Regions from separate parts of the Homo sapiens genome. Here region 1 is linked to region 2. The links are contacts of gene promoters, found by promoter capture Hi-C in human tissues and cell types (Jung and others, 2019). All regions are on one chromosome and are shown on one strand. The core of a region is centred on a gene start or on the middle of the fragment in contact, and the rest is flanking DNA. Distances in the headings are between cores, read along the strand shown. Region 1 overlaps ARHGEF2 (Rho/Rac guanine nucleotide exchange factor 2). Region 2 holds the start of FDPS (farnesyl diphosphate synthase).

The links. Contacts are between HindIII fragments. The study calls those that stand out against the background at their distance.
Region 1: a fragment that was not itself captured here is called in contact with the fragment with the promoter of FDPS in region 2 in 1 of the 25 tissues and cell types used here (dorsolateral prefrontal cortex).

The regions. Positions count from the first base shown.
Region 1 is chr1:155,944,958-155,949,087 of GRCh38, reverse strand. ARHGEF2 (Rho/Rac guanine nucleotide exchange factor 2) reads left to right here. Exons shown (of 22, transcript NM_001162383.2): 22 at 1,073-2,234. The coding sequence ends at 1,146. Among named protein-coding and RNA genes, the nearest start is that of MIR6738, 4.3 kb to the left of the region's middle. The HindIII fragment of the contact is 6,087 bases long and covers 1-4,130 here.
Region 2 is chr1:155,306,432-155,310,305 of GRCh38, reverse strand. FDPS (farnesyl diphosphate synthase) reads right to left here and starts at 1,440. Exons shown (of 11, transcript NM_002004.4): 1 at 1,341-1,440; 2 at 341-517; 3 at 101-263. The coding sequence starts at 516. It also overlaps a transcript of PKLR not described here. RefSeq lists enhancers at 1,081-1,250, 1,581-1,710, 2,613-2,682, 3,807-3,874. The HindIII fragment of the contact is 6,116 bases long and covers 1-3,874 here.

The sequences.
Region 1 (4,130 bases), core at 258-2,757, 640 kb before region 2:
TTAGTAGAGATGGGGTTTCACCATGTTGGCCAGGCTGGTCTCGAACTCCTGGCCTCAGGTGATTCACCCACATTGGCCTCCCAAAGTGCTGGGATTACAGGTGTGAGCCACCGTGCCTGGTCCCCCAAAATTTTTTTAATTAGCCAGGTGTGGTGGAGTGAGCCTGTAGTCCTAGCTACGGAGAGTGAGAGTGAGGTGAGAGGATCACTTGAGCCCAGCAGGTTGAGTTGACAGTACTCCGTGATTGCTCCAGCCTGGGCGACAGAAAGAGACCCGGAGACCCAGACAGAGGATCTCACTCTAAAATTTTTTATGTTAGAGAGAGGGTCTTGTGCTGTTGCCGAGGCTGGACTCAAACTCCTGGGCTTAAGTGATCCTCCCAAGTAGCTGGGGCTACAGGTACATACCACTGTGCCTGGGAAGGTATAGTTTTTTGTTTTGTTTTGTTTTGTTTTTTTTGAGACAGTTTTGCTCTGTCACCCAGGCTGGAGTGTAGTGGCACAATCTCAGCTCACTGCAACTTCCACCTCCCAAGTTCAAGCAATTCTTGTTCCTCAGCCTCCCGAGTAGCTGGGATTACAGGCGCATGCCACCACATATAGCTAATTTTTGGCATTTTTAGTAGAGATGGGGTTTCACCATGTTGGCCAGGCTGGTCTCCAACTCCTGGCCTTAAGTGATTCTCCCACCTTAGCCTCCCAAAGTGTTAGGATTATAAGCACGAGCCATGGGGCCAGTTTTTAAAGTAAAAAAAGTTTCAAAGAACTTCAAGTTTTTACAGTTGGTTCATGAAATAAAAAATTACCAAAAGCTTTAACCTTAAAGTATTTTGTATTTTCCTAATCAAATTGTATCTTTGGATACTGTAAAAGTGTATCCGGTACCTAGGTATGGATACCTTGCTTACTTTGTTGCCAAAGGTTTTCCTCTCACCCAAGAATTTACAGAACCCTGTCATCCCTTCACAGCCCCAGAGCCCCCTGAGCCTGCAGATGGGGAGGCATTAGTCTAGGGGTACAGTTCCTCATGGGAGTCTCTGCTAACTCACTGGCTTTGTCCTGTCCCCCTTCAGACTTTACCAGAATGCAGGACATCCCGGAGGAGACGGAGAGCCGCGACGGGGAGGCTGTAGCCTCCGAGAGCTAAGGGGGCCCCTCCCCCCTGCCCCGTGCCCCACTGAAGAACATTACTGAGGGGGCTAACCTTGGGGACTCCAATTTGCCAATGATGAGGGAACATTTGAAAGAACTGCAAATTGTCCTTGCCAGCTCTTGGGATCCTTGGATACCTGGGGCCATTTAAGAAGCTAGGGGAATTAGGCCACAACACCCCCTGGGACATCCGAAAGCTACACCACAGATGCCAGTGGTTCATGCCTTCTTCCCGCAACTTTAGGAAAATTTATTTATTTATTGTTTATTAGTTATGGGGGGAGAGGGGAGATTTAAAGGACCAGGGACATGGGAACCAAGCCATAGGGATCAGAGGGCCTTGTCCTTGAACACTACTGGGGTATATTCAGGCTCATCCACGCAGCTGCTGGGTTCTTGCCCTAACGGCCCTCCCCTGCAACATCCGTCTTGGAGGAGAGGCTGCAGCCACAGCACCCTACTGCCCTTTAAATAAAGGAGGGCTGTGGGCAGGGCCATGTCCCTTTCTCCTCTCCCCTCAACCTCTTACTGCTGTTCTCCCTTTCTCCGTCCTTCATGGAAGCCCTGGGAGATAACCTGGCTTCCTGGAGTTGATGGAATAAAGGTTGGGGTGGCCATAATGGTTTGTTGGGGGTGAGGGAAAAAACCCACAGGGACCAGAATGTTTTGTTGTTCTTTTGTTTTCTTTTTTGTACCAAAGTCAACTGCACGTGTTTTATATTTTTAAGAGATCGTAGGCAATTAGAGATCGAAGCCTCCTATCTCCACATCTCTGAAGAAGTTGAGGGGTGGGGGAGAGAATGACTTCTGCCTTCATCTGCAGTAACGGGGGGACCTATACTGACCTCTTCCCCAGCCATTTAGAAACAAGTTCTAGGGTGGGTTGGAAAATCTCCAAGAGCCCTGACCTCATCTTCCACCTCAGCAACCATGACCTGAAACCTCAGCGTGAATTTGGGGGATTTTTCAGTGGAACCCTTGCCCCCAAATGTCGACCAGCCCCCAAATGTCGAAGAATTTTCTTCTTGCCAATTTTGTTGTTTAAAAAAAAAATTCAGGGAAAATTAAAAACCTGGAACTCCATAAGGTACTGTCTTCCATAATGTCTGCCAATTCTGAGGAGGATGGTAGTAGAGAGCCGGGCAGTGACCTAAGTTCCTCTGAAAGGGGCCTTTTCCTCTCACCGCAAGGACAGCCTCTGCCTCACTGAAGAGAGGGGGCACTAACAAAAGTAACCACTGCAAATCTTTTTTTTGTTTTTTTAATTCACAAATACAAGGATAAAAACAAAGGGGCACACAGGTTCCAATGTTGGGAATTCCGGTATCAGGAAAAGTGTGTTCATCGTATTTGTATGCCATGCTCAGCAATCACCTCCACCTATTGCCCCCATCCCCAGTGTCATTCATTGTCAGATCCATCCCCCACTAGGCCCTTGTTGATCTCCATGATGTCGGGCCCTGGGGTTACCCGTCACAGGAGCTGCTCATTTACTGTCCCTCTTTGAGAGGCAGTGAGAGATGAGCTGGTTTCAGTTCTTGGTTTTAGTTGGTTTTACTTCCTGTTCCCAGTTGGTACTTACTTTGGGGCTGTGGGGGAGGGGAGGAGGTGAGAGTCTAGGGTTGTATAAATGCTGGTATGAATTCACATCCCTGTTGGAGCCTGTGGGGTCAGATCAGGAGAAGGGGGCTCAGGCCCTCAGCTAGAAAGAGGAATTGAAGTCACATGGGGAGCAGGCTGGGGGAGCAGCCAGCACCCTCCCCTTCTGTAACTCTCATCCACCAGCATCAAGCCTTTACAAGGTGCTTTCTCAGCCATTACGGGGATCCTGAGAATGGGGAATTGTTCTCATTTTATGGGCCGGGAAACCTAGGTGCACGAAGCTTGCCAGGCCAGGAGGGGGCCGGCCTTCTTAGTTCCAGTCCACCACTTTTCTCTCTTGGCTACTCTGCCTAAAAATACCAGGGCTGGCTGGGTGCAGTGGCTCACGCCTATAATCCCAGCACTTTGGGAAGCTGAGTTGGGTGGATCACTTGAGGCCAGGAGTTCGAGACCAGCCTGGCCAACATGGTGAAACCCCATCTCTACTAAAAATACAAAAATTAGCCGGGCGTGATGGCGGGCACCTGTATTCCCAGCTACCTGGGAGGCTGAGGTGGGAGAATTGCTTGAACCCGGGAGGCAGAGGTTGCAGTGAGCCGAGATTGTGCCACTGCACTCCAGCACTCCAGCCTGGGTGACAGAGCAAGACCCTGCCTGGAGAAAAGAAAAAAAAAAAAACACCAGGGCTTCACATTTCACACACAGGGACACAGGGCTCAGCAGCTGTCTTCCAGGTCAGCTGGAAGTATCTCCGACCCAGAGCTGTGAGGGTGGCACCTTTAGGTGGGGAAGGAAGGTAGGTGGGGGTAGGGTGAGGATATTAGACAGCATGCAGAGACCACCAAGAAAGGGGAATGCAGGCTCTCCCAGAATGCCCCACAGATCCAATGAGAGATGCTGGTCAGCAGAGAACATGGAAACCTGGAGACACAGCCCAGAGTGGGTGTGAAGTCCCCCGCTGCTTTCTTTGAAGCAGTGCTGTCCCTTCTGCCACCCCGTACCAACCCCCTCCACACACACACACACACACACACACACACACACACACACACACCTTCAGCCCCAGAACATGGGGCACAAGCATTTGTCTGATGTGTCTACTCCTGAGAGCTAGGCCTCTTCCTCACATCTTTCACCGTTGTGTCCCCTGTCCCCTCCCTAACCCACTTTTGGGAACCCACAGTCTTAACCTCTGTCCCTCCTGCTGAAGTTTCAAAGCCATTTGGCTTGGTGTTCCAGGGAGCCAGGGCCCAGGTTCTCACCAAAACATTGCCTTCCCTCCGTTCCAAGGGGAGCTCCAGGCCGCCTGCTCTGCCCAGCCCTCCCTTCTCCATCCTCCACTGCACCCTCCTCGTTCCACTCCCCCACAAGAGTAGG
Region 2 (3,874 bases), core at 191-2,690:
TCACATCTGTCAAAAGTCCCCCATAAGCCACAGGTGAATGCCACACAGGTACAGAGCAACTGAACCAAAGCCTTACTCCCCCAAGTCATGAATCCCTCACCTCCTTGAGCCGGGCAATAGCATCTCCTATCTCTGGGTGCCCCATCTCATCCTCAGTCAGCACCCTAACGATCTGGGAGAAGTGCTGAACGAAATCCTGCTTTTCTTGGGCATAAACATCTGAATTCTGGTCTCCGTTCATTCTGAGGGAGGAGCAAAGGGCTCTAAGTAGAAGAAAAACAAGTCAGAAACCTGATCAGCTGCTCCCCTCCCCAAGGCCCCTCACCCCAACCACACTCACCGAGGTTCCTCTGTCCACGCTTGGCACCAGCAGCGGGCACTGTGCCAGGCCAGGACTGGGTACCCGTGCACCAGGGAGGGCCGCCGTAGGGAACCCAGCCACCTCTCCCGGGGTGCCCAGTAGGGGGCTGGCAGCAGGAAGACCCCCACAGATCTCAACCAGCGGGACAGGGGCATCCTGGGAGTGGCATAGGGAGGGGGCACTAAGCACTCCCTGCAGGGGCAAGCACCAAAGGCAGAGGCATGGTGGCAGCTCCCCAGATAACTCCCACCCCAGCCTTAGCCCAGAGTGCCCCTCCCTCTTGTGGAATGTGCTTGGGGACAATTACAGGAAGGATACGCAGGGAACAAAAAAGTATGGCTGGGTGACTGAGACCCAACTAATCACCACTTACAATAAACAGGCTAGAACTCAGTGCCTTCAAGATGGCGTGCACAAGGCTGGGTAAGGAGGCGGTACAGAGTAAAGTACCCCAGGATTAGGGGCTGAAAGGACCCTTAAGTCATCCTATTTTACACAAGCCAAACTGAGGCTCTAGGAGGTAGGAAGATAGTAGAGGCAGAGCCAAATCTAGAACCCAGGTCTCCCCTGGGCAGTGGAGAGGGGTGCCCAGGGTCTGAGTTACGCCCCAAGGAGGAAAGAAGCATTGGAGCGAGAACCCATGGGTGCTGCATCCATATGGTCCGGGGTGCTTGAACCGCGCGTCCCAAGCCCCACAGGAATCGCTAGGACTGAGCAGATAGGCTCGGAGCAACTCTGGACGGGAGAGAAGGGCTCGCAGCAAAGGAGTAAACCGGGGTCCGGGCATATTGGGGATTCCAGGAAAGCACAAGGGCAGAGTTGGGAAGTCTCCACACCCCTAGAAGGCCAGCCAGTCTAGCCCACCGACCTTCAAAACGGACACAACAGGCTGGCCTTCCGATGCCTCACAGTATCGTTACAGAAGTAAGGCCCGGTCTCGGCCCCCTTCCTCCAAGGCCCAGCACACATCCTCTCTCACCTGTTCCCAGATACGGATTCCTGCTCGGTCCCGCTTGTTGGCGGGTACTCCTAAAAGCAGAATCCGCTCCGCGATCGGCTCTGTGGGTCGAGTAGTTCCCGCTCTCCCCACACTAAGGGCGGAAATATATAATTAGACTACAACTCCCAATGTGCCCGCGGGAGGGACAGATAACGCGATCCTGCGTGTCCTGGCTGGGCGAAGATGAGCCGCGCTGATTGGCTGCTGGCCGTCGTGTGAGCATGGCGCACTGTGGCACTGTGACGGACGACCAATGGAAGGGCTGAAGTCTAGAGGTCGCGGCTGGAGGCGTCAGTGCCGGAAGCGAGCCAGGCTGGGAACGTCCCCGCTGTGGCTTTGGCTGCCTGTCTTACTCAAGTTTTCATTATCTTCCTGGGCAGCTGATTGGCACGTTAGTAAAACGCAGCAGGACTAGCTTTCTCACTTATTAGTTCTCTAACTTTAGGCAAATCATTTAACGTCTCTGATCCTCAGTGAACTTGCTTGAAACTAGCTTTCCTCATCTGTTGAATGAGGGTGGTAATACCATGAGGTAATGTGTGCAAAGTGCTTTAAGGGCTTAAGAAAGATGAGTCTTGGGCCGGGCACGGTGGCTCACGCCTGTAATCCCAGCACTTTGGGAGGCCGAGGCGGGTGGATCATGAGGTCAGGAGTTCGAGACCAGCCTGACCAATGTGGTGAAACCCCGTCTCTACTAAAAATACAAAAAAAAAAAATTAGTCGGGCGTGGTGGCGCGCGCCTGTAATCCCAGCCACTCAGGAGGGCTGAGGCGGGAGAATCGCTTGAACTCGTAAGGCAGAGGTTGCAGTGAGCTGAGATCCAGCGAACCACTGCACTCTAGCTGGGGAGACAGAGCAAGACTCCGTCTCAAAAAAAAAAAAAAAAAAAGATGAGTCTCACACTTGTAATTCCAGCACTTTGGGCGGATCACCTGCGGTCAGGAATCTGAGACCAGCCTGGTCAACATGGCAAAACCCCTTCTCTACTAAAAATACAAAAATTACCCAGGTGTGCTGGTCCGCGCCTTAATTCCAGCTACGTGGGAGGCTGCAACCTCGCTTCCCGGGTTCAAGTGATTCTCCTGGATTACAGGTGCCTGCCAGCATGCCCAGCTAATTTTTGTGTTTTTAGTAGAGAGGGGGTTTCTCCAGATTGGCCAGCCTGGTCTCGAACTCCTGACCTCAAGTGATCCAGCCACCTCGACCTCTGAAAGTGCTGGGATTACAAGTACGAGCCACTTGGCCCAGGCAGTTATTTATTGATTATAAGCTAAACAAGGGTTGGATTATTCATGCCTCTGCTTTGTAGACCATATACAGTTAACTCCCTGATGTCGACACAGCATGTGGTAGGAGTATAGCGTTGAAGACCACCAGAGGTCACTCTTGTTGCCATCTTGGTTTTGGTAGGTTTTGGCCAGTTTCTTTACTGCAATCTGTTTTATCAGCAAGGTCTTTATGACCTGTATCTTGAGCCAATCTCCTATCTCATCCTGTGACTTAGAATGCCTAAACCAACTGGAAATGCAGTCCAGTAGGTCTCAGCCTTATTCTACCCAGTCCCTATTCAAGATGGAGTTGCTCTGGTTCACGCACCTCTGACAATTATGCTAAGTGAAATAAGCCAGACTCAAAAGGACAGATACTGTATGATTCCGTGTATATAAGGTACTGTCACCGGTGGAGGGTGTCCAGGTTCTTGGCATCTTGAACAAAGAATTGGACAAAACACGGCTGGGTGCAGTGGCTCACGCCTGTAATCCCAGAGCTTTGGGAGGCCAAGGTGGGCGGATCACGAGGTCAGGAGTTCAAGACCAGCCTGGCCAACATAGTGAAACCCCATCTCTACTAAAAAATCCAAAATTAGCCCAGCATGGTGGCGCACACCTGTAGTGCCAGCTACTCGAGAAGCTGAGGCAGGAGAATCGCTTGAACCCGGGAGGCAGAGGTTGTGGTGAACCGAGATCGCTCCGGGAGGAATGAAACAGGAGGAATGAACAACTCCAGATGCGCGGCCTTAACAGCTGTAACACTCACCGCGAAGGTCTGCAGCTTCACTCATGAGCCAGCAAGACCACGAACCCACCAGAAGGAAAAAACTCCGAACACATCTGAACATCAGAAGGAACAAACTCCGGACACACCACCTTTAAGAACTGTAACACTCACTGCGAGGGTCCGCGGCTTCATTCTTGAAGTCAGTGAGACCAAGAACCCACCAATTCCGGATACATAAATCTGCATGTGTGAGTGTGGATATTGTGTGAGTGTTAGAGTGGAGTACGTATTTGTGTGTGTGTGTGGAATGGTGGGGAGCTTTGTGTATGTTTACGTGTGTGTATGTGTCTGACCAGGGGGCACCTCGTCTGTTAAGCTGCCCTGACCTCCTTCTGCCCTCACTCACAATGCTCTGTCTCTCCTGGTGTCCCTCTGTGTGCTGAGCACAGTTCTGTCAGTGCCCCCCGACTTCCTTTATTAAACCTGACTGGCCTCGCTCCTGTCTCCATCCCCAC